Regions from separate parts of the Homo sapiens genome. Here region 2 is linked to region 1. The links are contacts of gene promoters, found by promoter capture Hi-C in human tissues and cell types (Jung and others, 2019). All regions are on one chromosome and are shown on one strand. Each heading gives the region's core, a stretch centred on a gene start or on the middle of the fragment in contact. The rest is flanking DNA. Distances are from core to core; before and after follow the strand shown. Region 1 holds the start of NUDT18 (nudix hydrolase 18). Region 2 overlaps TNFRSF10A (TNF receptor superfamily member 10a).

The links. The method cuts DNA at HindIII sites, captures the fragments that hold promoters and counts their contacts. A contact is called where the count stands out against the background at its distance.
Region 2: a contact is called between a fragment that was not itself captured here and the fragment with the promoter of NUDT18 in region 1, in 1 of the 25 tissues and cell types used here (spleen).

What each region holds. Positions count from the first base shown.
Region 1 is chr8:22,107,867-22,110,772 of GRCh38, forward strand. NUDT18 (nudix hydrolase 18) reads right to left here and starts at 1,553. Exons shown (of 3, transcript NM_024815.4): 1 at 1,273-1,553; 2 at 267-480; 3 at 1-29. The coding sequence starts at 1,434. RefSeq lists an enhancer at 1-667 and a silencer at 1,127-1,906. The HindIII fragment of the contact is 26,002 bases long and covers 1-2,906 here.
Region 2 is chr8:23,211,310-23,214,215 of GRCh38, forward strand. It overlaps TNFRSF10A (TNF receptor superfamily member 10a), which reads right to left. Exons shown (of 10, transcript NM_003844.4): 2 at 807-903. Among named protein-coding and RNA genes, the nearest start is that of TNFRSF10A, 12 kb to the right of the region's middle. The HindIII fragment of the contact is 6,641 bases long and covers 1-2,906 here.

The DNA.
Region 1 (2,906 bases), core at 303-2,802:
GGCCTCCTTGGAAGTCTTGAGAATTCCACCTGGGGGAGATGTGGGGGATGGGGCAGGGAGGGTCTGTGTGGAGAGAAGTGCAGCTCTGGCAGAGTCAACAGACATCCCTGACCCAGGAGAGAGGCCCCCAGCCCAAAGGCTGGAATCTGCCCATGCCAGGCTGTGCCAGCCATAACAGGACTGGCTGTAGAGGGGCTCACCTCACCGAGGAGCTGGGGGAAAGGTGTCAACTGGCCCTGTTCACACTGCCTCCAGGTGGGCCATACCTGTGGGGCGAGCGAGGAACACGAAGCGGACCCAGGAGGGGCCCCGCTCCTCCACGGACAGCAGTGTCTCGGGCTCACAGTGCAGCCCCGCCTCCTCCTTCACCTCCCGCTGCAGCGCCTCCACGATGGTCTCCCCTGGCTCCATTCTCCCCGCAGGCAGGTACCACGACCCCCGGCACTCCCTCTTGGCCTCCTGGATCAGTAGCACCTCATCCTGAGAGGAGAGAGGATCCTCACTTCCTGCCACAGCCTTCCCTCGCCCCGGGACCAGGGGGCATCTCAAACACAGTCGCCCAAGACTCCCCTCTGGGTGGACACTCTCAACCCAGCTAGCGCTCCAGGAGACCTGCCCTCGTGTCGCTGGGGGCTGCAGCCCTCTCCTCTCTGCAATTCGTCTCTCTCTGGATTTAGGAAGACTTCCATTTCAGGAAGGGCTGAGATTCCTGGAAGCCGCTTCAGGGGCTGGAGATGAGGCCCCAGAGTGAGGGTCACCATGTGTCTGTCTGTCTTGGATTGATTTGCGTCTGTACCTGCCACTGTGTATCTCTCGCCTCCAACGGCGTGGTTTACAAACTGTGATGGGTCCTCACACTGGGGTCTGGCTTGAAACACGACCCCCACCTCCGCTCTGTACAACCCCGCCCTATGGCCCTGGCCCCGTCTAGTTGTCATTACATCGCCCACTACAGGCATCAGCACCAAAGGCCTGAAGGTAAGCCGGGATTGAGCCACTGCTATCTGAGGGGCCCTGGGCACTCCGCTAGACTCTGGGGAAGGGAAGGAATGAGGCCTAGTCGGATGAGACAAACAGGCCCCGGGCCTCAGTTTCCTCTTCTGCATATCGGGACGAACGCAGGACACAGATGCGAGTGGGAGTGGGAGTGCTTTGCAAAACTGGGAAGCGCCACGCACGCGGCAGCGCTGGCTGTGGCCGTTGGGTCTTCTGTCCCCACCTGGGCTGGCTGCGCGCTCCCGAGGCCCGGCGGGCCCGGGGGCGGCCGCTCACCTGCTCGCTGAGGAACACGGCCAGCACCACGTAGCACACGTTCTTCCGCAGCCGCACGGGCGCCGGCGGCTCCCCGGCCGGCGCCGAGTCGCAGCTGTGCACGCTGGACCCCTGGCCAGCCAGCACGGAAGCCAGCGCCCCCGCCAGGCCCTCCGAGGCCATCGGGTCCCCCGGGGGGCGGCGGGCCGGATCCTCGCAGACCGACTGAGCCGAGCCGCGGGCTAGAGTGCGCTGCGGAGCCCGCTCCCAGTCCCTGCGGCAGCGGGCCGGGAGCTCACGAGAACGCGGAAGCGCACGCGAACGCGGAAGCGCACGCGAGCTCTGGCCGCTGATAGGCTGCGCGGCGCCGCGGCCTGCCCGGATTGGCCGGCCCGCGGCATTCACCGAGGGGGCGGGGCCGCCCGGGGCCGCCCTGGAACTGGGGGGGCACGGGTCCGGAGCCCAGCGGACCCCGCCCGGCTTCTGCCGCCTGTCAGTCCCGTGCGCTCGGGACGTCTCCCAGCCGCCACCCGCTCGCCAACTCCCCGAGCGCGCACTGGTCTGCAGGAGCTCCGACGGTGACGTCATCTTTCCTGCAGGGCGCGTTGCGCCGCCGGGGTAGGCGACGGTGACGCGACAATCCGGTGACGTCACGGAGGCCCGGGGCCGCCCCCTGGAACCACTGTCCCGCTGTTGCCGTAAACACACAATGGCATTGCCGGAGTTGATCATATCCCAAATACCTTTCTTCTCATTCCACCAAAGAGTTATAAATGTCACATGGCCCGTGGGGTGGGGGACATAAACCCCTGCCTTGAAGGAGATTCTGCAATAGTTGGAGAGATGGACGGAGTCCTAGATGAGGAGTCAGCTGAGGGTTCGAGGCTAAGTGCTAAATGCTTGGTTTGGGCAGGAAGAGTGACAGGCGCTGGAAGGAGGGAGGGGGCAGGGCTGGGGATGGCGGGAGGGGTCCGGGGCTGAGAGAAGGCTGCCGTCAGCCGGCCCACCCTCATCAGTGTCCCTCTGCCTACCGCATTTCCCACGCAGCTCAAGGCCCTCTCTGCTGCAGATGGTGCGCCCTGGGAGGGCGGGGGTGGGGCCCTGCTCCTCCATCCTTGTCGTCACCCTCCCACCCAGCGTGCAGGACCTGGCGCGTGGAGAGCAGGGTGGGGGTGGTTGTGGCGAGCGCCTGCTCCTCTCCCAGCTCGGCCTTTCCTCCTTCACCCCACCTCAGCACTGGAAGGCAAAGCCAGCTGGAAGGGATCTGCGAAGCAGGCCGTCTGGCTCCTCACCTGGCAGAGGCCACCCCTTTCCTCTGCCTCTGATAGTTTTGTGCGCCTCCCTGCTAGGGAGACTGTGGCTTGGTGGTGTGGACAAAGCTCAGGACCTGCAGCCAGATGGCCAGCCACTGCTGACTGGCTTGCTCTGTGCTCCTGGGTGAGCTGTGGGCCTCAATTTTCTTATTTGTAGAGCAGGATCATAGCAATTCTTCTTTTACAGGGGTGTTGGGAAGCCACAACAATTGGAGAGGAGCTGTGTGGATTGTCCAGCACTGGGCACCGTCCCCAGGCAGCCCACCAACCCTCAGGGGTGGTCCCTCTCCACCATAGCTCTTGCTACCACACGCAAGGCCTGCCCTCATGAAATGTGACTTT
Region 2 (2,906 bases), core at 287-2,786, 1.1 Mb after region 1:
AAAAAGTATTAAATATCTAGGAATAAGTTTAACAAAATCAACCCAAAATTTATAGTCTGCAAACTACGAAACATTATTTTAAAAATTAGAGATGATTTAAATAAATCAAAAAAACTCATGCTTTGGGATCAAAAGACTTCTCATTGTTAAGATGCCAGGAACCTCTAAACTGAGCAACAGGTGCAACACAATCCCTGTGAGAAACTCAGCTGATTTTAGAAATTGGCAAGCTGATCCTAAAATTAATATGGAATTTCAAAAAGCCCAGCATAAACAAAATAATTCTGGAAAAGGAAAACAAAAAAGAAAGATTCATACTTCCTGATGTCAAAACTCACTACAAGACTGTGTGGCACTGGAAAGAGGACAGATATAGATCAATGGAAAAGAATTGAGAGTCCAAAAATACACCCATACCTTTATGGTCAATTGGTTTTTGACAAGGATGCCAAGGCCATTTAATGGGAAAAATCATCATTTCAACGAATGGCAACTGGATAGCCACATGCAAAAGAATGCAGTTGGACGCTTATCTGATGCCATTTACAAAAATTAACTGAAAATGCATCAAGAGTTAAAGTACAAAACTCTTAGGAGAAAACATGGGGATAAAGCTTCATAACCTTGGATTTGGCAAAGGATCAATAAGTATCTGTTGAATAGAAGAACCAGAAACTGTAGGAAACAGAAAACTTGAAGAACATGGAAAAGGAATGTTATTGATGAATTTTGAGATAATTTTTGTATATAGTATAGGGTAAGGAAAAGAGAGGTGTAAAGGATTAGAGATCAGTCTTAGAATGTACCTGGTGGACACAACTCTCCCAAAGGGCTATGTTCCCATTGCTGTGTGCCAATTGATTGATCATGAAGTTTGATGGTTGCAGCTGAGCTAGGTACGACCTGTGGGGACAAAGCAGGGACTGGCATGAGTGGCTTCCAGATCTCACCCATTACAAGATCAATCTCACATTCCATTCCCCCAAGCCTCCAAAATTAGACAGAACTTGCATCTTTCTCCCAGTTCTAAAACTCAACCATTTGTTTGTGCTCATCTTTGTCTCTTTGTCCCCATGCCCCCAGCCTGTGGCAACTACCATTCTACTGTCTGTTTCTATGAATTTAACTACTCTACATACTTCATATAAATGGAGACATACAGTATTTTATGGTTTTCTTGAGGCTGTCATATTTCAATTAGCATAAAATCATCACGATCCATCCATTCGGTACCATGCATTGGAATTTCATTCCTTTCCATTGTGTGTATATGTATTACGTTTATCCATTCATCTGTCAATGGGCACTTGGTTTGTGTTCACATTTTAGCTATTGTGAATAAAGCTGCTATGAACACGGGTGTACAAAATCTCTTTATGCCCTTTCTTTCAATTCTTTTGGATATATACCCCAAGGTAAAATTGCTGTTTTCTTACAAGAGTTGTATAATTCTTATAGATCTTACATTTGGAGGCCACATATGAAAAGCCAACAGCTACCATCCTACTCAATAGTGAAAGACTAAAGGTTTTTTCTCCAAGATCAGGAACAAGACATGGAGGCCTCCTTTCATCACTTCTATATTATCAGGGTAATGCGGGGCCCACACGAAGAGTTAGAAAGTGTTCCCTCCAACTCAGTTTCTTGGAAGAATTTGAGAATTCATGTTAGTTCTTTAAATGTTTGGTAGACGTCATCATTGAAGCCAACTGGTCCTGGGCTTTTCTTTGCTGGGAAGTTTTGGATTATGGATTCTATCTCCTTACTATAGTTCTGTTCAAAATCTCTATTTCTTCATGATTGAATATTGGTAGGTAGTGTGTTTTTAGTAATTTACCAGTTTTATCAATGTGCTCTAGTTTGTTGACATGCAATTATTTATAGTATTTTTTATAATCCTTTGGATTTCTGTAAAGTTGTTTTAAATGTCCCCTCTTTCATTTCTGGTTTTGGTTATTTAAGTTTTCTGTCTTTTTTCTTAGTCCATCTAAGTAAAGGTTTGTACATTTTATAGATCTCTCTTAAGGGTCAACTTTCAGTTTCTTTGAGTTTCTCTGCAGTTTTTCTATTCTCTATTTCTGTTATCTCTGATCTATTTTTTGCTGGTTTGGGCTTAGTTTGCTCCTCTTTTTTTTTTTTTTTTTTTTTTTTTTTTTGAGACAGAGTCTCGCTCTGTTGCCCAGGCTGGAGTGCAGTGGTGCGATCTTGGCTCACTGCAAGCTCCGCTTCCCAGGTTCATGCCATTCTCCTGCCTCAGCCTCCCGAGTAGCTGGGACTACAGGCGCCCGCCACCATGCCCAGCTACGTTTTTTGTATTTTTATTAGAGACAGAGTTTCACTGTGTTAGGATGGTCTCTATCTCCTGACCTCGTGATCCGTCCACCTCGGCCTCCCAAAGTGTTGGGATTACAAGCGTGAGCCACCACGCCCAGCTGTTTGCTCTTCATTTTCTACTTCATTATGTAAAAGGTAGATTGTTCATTTATTTCTTCTTTTAATGTGGTGAGCATTTACAGCTATCATTTTCCATTATAACACTGCTTTCATATCCTGTAACTTATGGTATATTGTTTTCATTTGTCTCAAGATATTTTCTTTTGAAACATTTTTCTAATTTCCATAGGTTTGAGGGTACAGCTGCTTTTTGTTGTTGTTGTTGTTACATGGATAAGTTCTTTAGTGGTGAGTTCTGAGATTTTAGTGTGCCTGTCATCTGTCTCAAGATATTTTCTTTCTTTTTTGAGGGGGGTGGGGCCTCCCACAATCTGCCCACCTTGGCCTCCCAAAGTGCTGGGATTATAGGCGTGAGCTACAGAGCTCAGCCTCCCAAGACATTTTCTAATTTCCCTTTTCATTTATTTTTTTACCCATTGGTTGTTTTAAAATGTGTTGTTTAGGCCGGGCGC